Regions from separate parts of the Homo sapiens genome. Here region 1 is linked to region 2. The links are contacts of gene promoters, found by promoter capture Hi-C in blood cells and fetal thymus (Javierre and others, 2016). All regions are on one chromosome and are shown on one strand. Each heading gives the region's core, a stretch centred on a gene start or on the middle of the fragment in contact. The rest is flanking DNA. Distances are from core to core; before and after follow the strand shown.

The links. The method cuts DNA at HindIII sites, captures the fragments that hold promoters and counts their contacts. A CHiCAGO score of 5 or more calls a contact.
Region 1: a fragment that was not itself captured here is called in contact with the fragment with the promoter of ZNF101 in region 2 in 2 of 17 cell types (non-activated CD4 T cells and naive CD8 T cells); the score reaches 6.1 in non-activated CD4 T cells.

The regions. Positions count from the first base shown.
Region 1 is chr19:19,710,202-19,714,807 of GRCh38, forward strand. ZNF14 (zinc finger protein 14) reads right to left here. Exons shown (of 4, transcript NM_021030.3): 2 at 4,160-4,286; 3 at 3,890-3,950; 4 at 271-2,888. The coding sequence ends at 1,151. Among named protein-coding and RNA genes, the nearest start is that of ZNF14, 21 kb to the right of the region's middle. The HindIII fragment of the contact is 1,249 bases long and covers 867-2,115 here.
Region 2 is chr19:19,666,851-19,671,749 of GRCh38, forward strand. It overlaps ZNF101 (zinc finger protein 101), which reads left to right and starts at 1,989. Exons shown (of 4, transcript NM_033204.4): 1 at 1,989-2,116. The coding sequence starts at 2,114. RefSeq lists enhancers at 1,678-2,244, 2,245-2,810 and a silencer at 2,199-2,398. The HindIII fragment of the contact is 10,038 bases long and covers 264-4,899 here.

The DNA of each region.
Region 1 (4,606 bases), core at 241-2,740, 43 kb after region 2:
GAGGACATATTATGAGAGAAAACTTAAGGATCCCTACCTCATACCCAGAGACCTCAAATAGCAGCATGAACTACTCAACCAAGACTCAGCCAGATTGGATAGAAAAAAATAACTACAGAAGTAAAAAATGCTGTTGCTGAATTGGAAATTAGCTCTCATATGGTTTCTTCTGTAGAATCCACTGAAGAATGAGTCACATCTAAATCAATATGTCCTTTGGAAAGCATAATGAGAATATGTTCCAGTTTTAAAGAAAAATGTTATAATTTATAAGATTGTAAAATTTTATTACTGGGCTGTTTACATGATACTTTCTTTCTTATTAAATATAACCTGACAATCTTTATTAAATGAAAATATTTTTGTATCATCAACAACAACAAAAGAACTAGGATGAAGAATTTCCCACATTCTTAATATTTATAGGGTTTCTCTCCAGTATACATTCTCATGTGTGCTCAAAAGGCTGTGTGAAGGCTTTCCCAAATGTCTTACATTTATAGACTTTCACCCCACTCTGACTCCTTTCATATATTCACACTCTAGAGGACAGTTGGAAGATTTTCCCACTTTTATTTTTTCTTGAGACAGTGTCTCATTCTGTCGCACAGGCTGGAATGCAGTGGCGTGATCTCAGCTCACTGCAACCTCTGTCTCCAGGTTCAAGTGATTCTCCTGCCTTAGCCTCCTGAGTAGCTGGGATTAGAGGCATGCACTACCATGCCTGGTTCATTTTTTGGTAATTTTTAGTAGAGATGGGGTTACACCATGTTGACCACGCTGGTCTCGAATTTCTGACCTCAAATGATCTGCCTGCCTTGCACCTTGGCCTCCCAAAGTGCTGGGACTATAGGCATGAGCCAACAAGCTTGGCCTTTTTTAAAAAAACAAAAAACAAAAAACAAAACAGATTTCACTGCAGCACGAGTCCTGTCTTTGAAATGAATTAGGTCAACTGAAGGCTTAATCACAATGTTTACATTCATACTGTTTCTCACCAGTGGGAATTCTTTCGTGCTCAAAAGAAACTGGAACAATTAAGGGCTTTAGAACAATGTTTGTATTCACACAGCTTCTGTCCAGTATGAACTCTTTTGTGTATTCAGAAGGAGCTGGAACAACCGAAGGCTTCAGAATGTTGCTTATATTCTTAGACTTTCTCTCCCATATGAGTCCTTTCATGCAGTCGAAAGTGACTGGAAGAAATGAAGGCTTTTCCACATTGTTTGCATTCATAAGGTTTCTCTCCAGTGTGAGACCTTTCATGAATTCGAACAGAACTTGAAAATCTGAAGGCTTTCCCACATTGTTTACATCGATAGGGTTTCTCTCCCGTGTGAGTTCTCTCATGCATTCGAAATTTACTGGAAGAAATGAAGGCTTTTCCACATTGTTTACATTGATACGGTTTCTCTCCAGTGTGAGTCCTTTCATGCAATCGAATTTGACTGGAACGAAGGAAGGCCTTACCACATTGCTTACACTCAAAAGGCTTATTTCCAGTGTGAATTTTTTCATGTTCTCGAAGGGAACTTGAAAAACTGAAGGTTTTACCGCATAGTTTACATTCATAGGGTTTCTCTCCAGTGTGTGTTCTTTCATGCAGTCGAAAGGAACTGGAACGAATGAAAACTTTTCCACACTGTTTACATTCATAGGGTTTCTCTCCAGTGTGTGACCTTTCATGAATTCGAAAATAACTTGAACACCTGAAGGCTTTCCCACACTGTTTACATTCATAGGGTTTCTCTGCATTGTGAGTCCTTTCATGTCTTTGAAGGGAACTTGAAAAACTGAAGGTTTTACCACATTGTTTACATTCATAGGGTTTCTCTCCAGTGTGAGTTGTTTCGTGTTCTCGAAGGGAACTTGAAAAACTGAAGGTTTTATGACACTGTTTACACTCATAAGGTTTCTCTCCAGTATGAGTTCTTTCATGCAATCGAAGAGAAATGGACCAACTGAATGATTTGCCACATCGTTTACATTCATATGGTTTTTCTCCAATATGAGTTCTTTCATGCACTCGACAGGAATTAGAAGAGTTGAAGGCTTTCCCACATTCTTTACATTTATAAGGTCGAGCCCCAGTGTGTATTATTACATGTGCTCGAAAGCTTGCAGAATAAAAGAAGGCTTTTCCACATTCTTTACATTCATAGGGTTTCTCTCCACTATGAGTCCTTTTATGCCTTCGAAAAGAACTGAGAAAACTGAAGGCTTTACCACATTCTTTACATTTGTAGGGTTTTTCTCCAGTGTGAGTTCTTTCATGAGTTCGAAAGTATGTGGGACAACTGAAAGCCTTACCACATTGCTTACATTCATAGGGTTTCTCTCCAGTGTGAGTCCTTTTGTGTCTTTGAAAAGATTGGTAACATATAAAGGCTTTCCCACACTGTTTACATTCATAGGGTTTCTTTCCAGTATGAGCATGTTTTTGAAAAGACTGGTAATATATAAAGGTTTTTCCACATTGCTTACATTCATAGGGTTTCTGTCCAGCATGAGTCCTTTCATGTCTTTGAAATGGCTGGTAATATATAAAGGCTTTCCCACACTGTTTACATTCATAGGGCTTCACTCCAGTGTGAGTTCTTTCATGTTTGCGAAAGCAGTGGTGATAACTGAAGGTTTTCCCAACTGCTTTACATTTACATGGTTGCTTTTCATATTCCTGATACTCATTTGGTTTCTGTCCAGTGTGAGATCTCATGTGCCTATTAAGGGACGAATGATGAATGAAGTCTCTTCCACAAAAGCTGCATTCATGTGGTTTTGCTCCAGTAAAAGTTTCCTTGTTGATATTAACATTTGGCATCTGGCTAGTGGTTTCTCCACATTTGCTACCTCTTCTACTTTCACAGAGTCTCTCAACCATATGACATCTGTAAAAAATGAATAGCACATTATTAGTGGCTTTTTAATTATTTTGTATTTATTAGTAGGTATGAGAATTACATTTTAACCATTTTCAGAAAAAGTATAGGATATCTGCCCTGTCTGAATTGTTTTAAAGTTAATATATTCAATGCTCTGGAAGAAGACTCAACCATAGTTATGATCAAAACAGTCAATTTTTTTGTTGTTGTTGTTTAAATAAGAGATGGAGTCTCATTCTCTCACCCAGGCTGGAGTACAGTGGCATGATCACAGCTCACTGAAGCCTTGAATTCCTGGGCTCAACCAATCCTCCCATCTCAGCCTCCTGAGCAGGTGGGACTAGAGAGTGCCACCATGCCTGGCTAATTTTTTTTTTTTTTCCAAGATGGAGTCTTGCTCTGTTGCCCAGGCTGGAGTACAGTGGCACGATCTAGGCTCACTGCAGCTTCTGCCTCCTGGGTTCCAGCAATTTTCCTGCCTCAGCCTCCTGGGTAGCTGGGATTATAGGAGCACACCACCACAGCTGGCTAATTTTTGTATTTTTAGTAGAGATGGGGTTTTGCCATGTTGGCCAGGCTGGTCTTGAACTCCTGACCTCAGATGATCTGCCTGCCTTGGCCTCCCAAAGTGCTAGGATTACAGGCATGAGCCACTGTGCCAGGCCTTTTTTTTTTTTTTTCCCCAGATGAGGTCTTGCTATATTACCCAGGCTGGTCTTGAATTCCAGGCCTCAAGTGATCCTCCTACCTCAGCCTCCCAAACTGCTGGGATTACCTACATGAACTATTGTGCCTGGCCAAAATAATAATATTTATAAAAGGGGTTTCTAAATGCTATTTCGAAGTGATTTATTTTTCACATCCTGAACATCTATGATGTTTTTAAGAAAACATTTTCAGTGAAAGTTTTCTAGGAATAAATAAATTTGAAGCTGTGCTTAATTGTTTTGCTTGCTTTCTTTTGAAATTCCCCCACGGGCCACTATTTTTCTGTGGATGCAACTCACCTTCGATTTTTCCCCTGGTTTCTGTGGTCATCTTCAATGTCCTGGTCTTCCCACTTTTTTCCTAAAATGCATACCCAGAAAGACCATTAAAAATTATTAGAAATTATAGAAAATTGTTACAGTCTAGTTTCATGATTAGCTGTGACTGTCTGATTCAATCACTGAAAGATTCCCTTTCCACATTTCAAATCTTGGAACACAGCTGTTGAGCAAGAAACACTTGTTCTGTGTTCTATATTTAACTGAGGAAAGAAATGTTGATATCCTTACCTAGACAAACCAGGTTTTTGAAGGTCTCCTGCATCACATCTTCATAGAGCTTTTTCTGTGAAGAATCCAGCAAAGCCCACTCCTCCAGGGTGAAGTTCACGGCCACATCCTCAAAGGAGACTGAGTCCTGAAACATTCCACATATGTTTACAGAGGATGGGTAAGACTGGCAGTACTGGGGATCTATACTTGATTTGTAAGAAGTTCCCATACAATTCTGTGTTCTCCAAACATTTGGTGTATGACTCAGCTGTCAGAACTACGACTGTCCACACTGACTTCCTCATAAAATTCATGCTGTCATGAACACACAGAAATTACTTCTATTTTTTTCTTTTTCCTTTTTCTTTTTCTTTTTTTTTTTTTTTTGAGACAGAGTCTTGCTTTATTGCCCAGGCTGGAGTTCAGTGGTGCGATCTTGGCTCACTGCAACCTCTGCCTCTGGAG
Region 2 (4,899 bases), core at 739-3,238:
TCCTGACCTCATGATCCGCCTGCCTGGGCCTCCCAGAGTGCTGGGATTACAGGCTGAGCCACCGTGCCCGGCTGCATATTATTAAGATACATGACTTCGTAAAAGGAGAAAGGAAATGTAATAGGACTTAATAATCACATAGTATCAAATAAGATAATCTTCAGTAAAAATAGGAATGACATGTTTCTGTCCCATGATACAGTTCGATATACTTACTTTTTCAGTTTTTTCTCCAATATTAATTCTTTCCCATACAAGGTCCAAGCTTCTGCTCTTGGAGTCTGGGACTGGACCCCTTTCTGGTAGCAATACCTTTATAGAATGTTTACTCCAGGCCGGGCACGGTGGCTCATGCCTGTAATCCCAGCACTTTGGGAGGCCAAGGCGGGCAGATCACGAGTTCAGGAGATCGAGACCATCCTGGCTAACACGGTGAAACCCCGTCTCTACTAAAAATACAAAAAAAAAAAAAAAAAAAAAAAATTGGCCGGGCATGGTGGCACATGCCTGTAGTTCCAGCTACTCGGACTCGGGAGGCTGAGGCAAGAGAATCTCTTGAACCTGGGAGGCAGAGGTTGCAATGAGCTGAGATCGTGCCACTGCACTCCAGCCTGGGCGACAGAGCCAGACTCCGTCTCAAAAAAAAAGAAAAAAAAAGTGGTTTACTCCAGTTTTTCCCTGCATTTAATAATTTTGTTCCCTTTAAGGCATGTTTTTATTTTCTTGGCTGAAAAGGAGTAGCCTGAGAAGAAGTAACGTGTAGGAAGCCTTGGCCATGGGACCAATAGCCTCATAAATTCCTGATCTCTGGAGGACATCAGGGCCTCCTACCTGTTCCATTGTGACCTGGGAGTCTCTCCAGCTCCAAGGTGGAGGGATGGCTTCACTGAACACGGAGTCTGGAATTCCGTGCACACTCATGTGACCGGTGTTCCGGAAAAAGAAGCAGGAGGCGGCTGGGCGCGGTGGCTCACGCCTGTAATCCCAGCACTTTGAGAGGCCGAGGCCGGCGGATCACGAGATCAGGAGTTCGAGACCAGCCTGGCCAACATGGTGAAACCCCATTTCTACTAAAAATACAAAAATTAGCCGGGAGTGGTGGTGGGCGCCTGTAATCGCAGCTACCCGGGAGGCTGAGGCAGGAGAATCGCTTGAAACCGGAAAGCGGAGGTTGCAGTTAGCTGAGATCGTGCCATTGCATTCCAGCCTGGGCAACAAGAGCGAAACTCCGTCTCAAAAAAAAAAAAAAAAAGCAGCAGGAAGGACCCACTGAGTACAGGAAGCCGACAGGGCCTGCTCCGGAAAACCAGGAGCTGTAAGGTCAGCCGAAAGGACGAAGAGACCTGAAGTCAGTCAAGTAAGTTTTATTAACCTGCTGGGCTGCTCCCCCACAGTTAGAGGAGGCAGCCCCGCTTACAGACTACAGCAGGGCTTTATAGGGCGAGGAACTGGGCTGGGGTGTGAGAACTGAGTCGGGGGTGCAGGTGTCCTGACCGCATCCTGGAGATGTTTTTGCCAGCTTTGTTATGCAAGGTGGGCAGGTGTTGTGACCGCATCCTGGAACTGTCTGCCGGTTCAGCTGAAGTCTTTTGAACAAACAGTTACTGGAAGGGTCAGTGGGGAGGAGGTCTACTTCTAGCCCGGGGGGAGTTGTGTGGCGGTCACAAAGGACTGTATTGTAAGACTGATGGGGGAAGGAGGGGAACAGTCTGGTTGGGTTGACCCTAACGGGAGCAAGTTCTGCTTCCATGCAAGTCCAGGTCCAAGGTCCCAGCGAGGGGCTGTGGGTAGCACCTGTCAGTCACACCCCACACAGCGAGCGGATTATTTGAGGATTCCGATCACCTCTCCTGTCGCTCAAGCCCCAGGGGCGGGACCTGGGGCACCAGCCAGTCAGAGGCGCTGTGCGGCAAACTGTCCAATCAGGTGCGCCGGGAGGAGGGGCAACTTCCAAAGCCCGAAGCGGTCTCATTTCCCGCCGGCCCCCCATTCGGGTCCGGGTTTTAGTTCCTCGGGGAGCCCCTGGTGCCCCGGATACGGCTGATTTTGTCGTGTGGGACCTGTTCTGGCTGCTCCAGCCCCAGGAAGGACCCAGGACACCCGGAAGCCGGAAATGGTGAGCGTGCGGAGCCGGGCGTCCGGAGACCTGAGGAGGAGCTGGTCGGAACCGGCAGTGGCTGGACCTGGGCCTCCCCGCGGCGACTGTGGGGGTCTGGGACCCGAGTCCCCCAGGCGCAGCTCGACCCTTGGTCCCCTCGGTCGCCGGGTGGAGCTGGACCAGCCGCCGGGACCCCGGGTGTCCTGTCCCGGCCCCGGAGCCCTCTCAGGGCAGCTCCGCGCCCGCAGCCCCGCGTCTCCCCAGATCGTGCGGGGGCCTCAGGAGGGTCTTAGGGGGAATCCCGCCTCGGGTGTGGGGTTCGTGCGGGAGGAGCCGTGGCCTGTGGGGTCCCCAGTTCCTCCTCCCTTAGGCGGTCCCCGTTTCCTTCGGAGTCTTCCAAAGGTGTGGGAAGCTGGGTTTCAAACCCACGACCCCGTCCCCCAGCTTCGCTCCTCCCAGGGCTGCAGTAAATCCCTAAATTTCCCCGCATTCCCCAACCCTAAGTTCTCCCTCCAGTACATCCACTTCACATTATTATTATTATCATTATTTCTATTATTTTTGAGACGGAGTCTCACTCTGTCGCCCAGGCTGGAGTGCAGTGGCACTGTCTGGGCTCACTGCAGCCTCCGTCTTCCGGGTTCAAGTGATTCTCCTGCCTCAGCCTCCTGAGTAGCTGGAATTACAGGTGCCCGCCACCACGTCCGGCTAACTTGTATTTTCAGTAGAGACAGGTTCACCATGTTGGCCGTGCTGAAGTCCTGATCTCAGGTATCTGCCTGCCTCGGTCTCCCAAAGTGCTGGGATTACAGGCTTGAGCCACTGCGCCTGGCAAGACCCAGTGTTTTAACTGTCATCTTTTCCAAGGAGCCCTAGATGGCACTTCTTAAAAAGTTCATTTTCCGTTTGTGAACATTTCACATGCGAGCAAAGCAGAAAATAACCCCCTGACACTCCGATGTTAAAAAAAAAAAATCACTGTGCCTGCCCTCTTTTTACCTTCCCTAGGCGCGGCCACCTTATCAGACAGTCTTTGGGTGGAGGCTTCTCTTGGGAACTTCACAGGGTATTGGGTCCTCAGCCCACCCTCCTATCTTTCTGGTCCTGGGTTTCAGGACCGTCCAGGGACTTCTTCCAGCTGCCCTCGGAAGAACGGGTGAAAAGTCTGTCCTGGCGTGGTTAATCTTTCCTGGTTGTTTGATGAGCCTCCTAGGGAGGAGTTCTTGTCTTTTGAAAAGAAGTTTCCTTAGGAAATTCCAGAGGGATTCCCTGCTGGCCCTTGGGGGTGGGGTGGGGCCAGAAACAGTAGAAAGAAACTTCTCCCTTCTGAGGCAGCTCAGGGTGGCATGCAGTGGCACAGTCATGGCTTACTACGGCCTCAACCTCTGGGGCCCAAGCAATCCTCCTGCCTCAGTCTTCCAAGAAGCTGGGACCACAGGCATGCGCCACGCCCGGCTAGTTTTTATTTTTTGTAGAGACAAGGTCTCACTATGTTGCCCAGTCTGCTCTGGAAGTCAAAAGCGATTCTCCTGCCCAGGTGGCTCACGCCTGTAATTCCAGCACTTTGGGAGGCTGGGGCGGGAAGATCTCTTGAGCCCAGAAGTTTGAGACCATCCTGGGCAAAGTGGCGAGACCCCATTTCTACAACAAATACAAAAATTAGCCGGGTATGGTGGCGCATGCCTGTAGTCTCAGCTACTCAGGAGACTGAGGTGGGAGAGCCACCTGAACCCGGGGAGGTTGAGACTGCCGTTAGCTGTGATTGCGCCACTGCACTGAACGACAGAGTGAGACCCTGTCTTTAAAAAAAAAAAAGGAAATCTTCCATTATGGCTGCAGAATATGAATACATTCCCACAAAAAAAAGGCATGGTAGGTCGGGCGCGATGGCTCACGCCTGTAATCCCAACACTTTGGGAGGCAGAGGCAGGCAGATCACGAGGTCAGGAGATCGAGACCATCCTGGCTAACACGGGGAAACCCCGTCTCTACTAAAAATACAAAAAAATTAGCCAGGCGTGGTGGCGAGCGCCTGTAGTCCCAGATATTCTGGAGGCTGAGGCAGGAGAATGGCGTGAATCCGGGAGGCGGAGCTTGCAGTGAGCTGGAGATCGCGCCACTGCACTCCAGCCTGCGCGACAGAGCGAGACTCCATCTCAAAAAATACATAATAAAAAAAGGCATGGTAGATAAGCAGAAATTAGTGATTTACAAAGATTCACCAGCACATCAGCTCCTCTCCTTTGCAGGTTGGGGAATTTGTGATGGTGGATAACTCTGTTCTGTTTTGTGTTATCTGGATTTGACAGATTAACGCTGAATCCTTTGGGATAAGTTTGGCAACATCTAGAAGTAGTCAGATATGATCTTTTGTTTACTGAATAGTTTATTATGGAAAAAATACTGAATGACATCTGAAAGTGATAGATACTCATCTCTTTTCCTAAGGATACTAATCTGTACTCCTAGGTCTCTCTCATGATCTCATGTAATCCCAGTTATTTCCCAGAGTTGCTGCCCGTAATATTAATACCATCACCTTAGGTGTTAGGATTTTTTTTTTTTTTTTGAGACAGAGTCTTGCTCTGTCGCCCAGGCTGGAGTGCAGTGGCGCGATCTCGGCTCACTGCAAGCTCCGCCTCCCGGGTTCACGCCATTCTCCTGCCTCTGCCTCCCGAGTAGCTGGGACTACAGGTGCCCGCCATTACGCCCGGCTAATTTTTTGTATTTTTAGTAGAGACGGGGTTTCACCGTGTTAGCCAGGATGGTCTCGATCTCCTGACCTCGTGATCCGCCCGCCT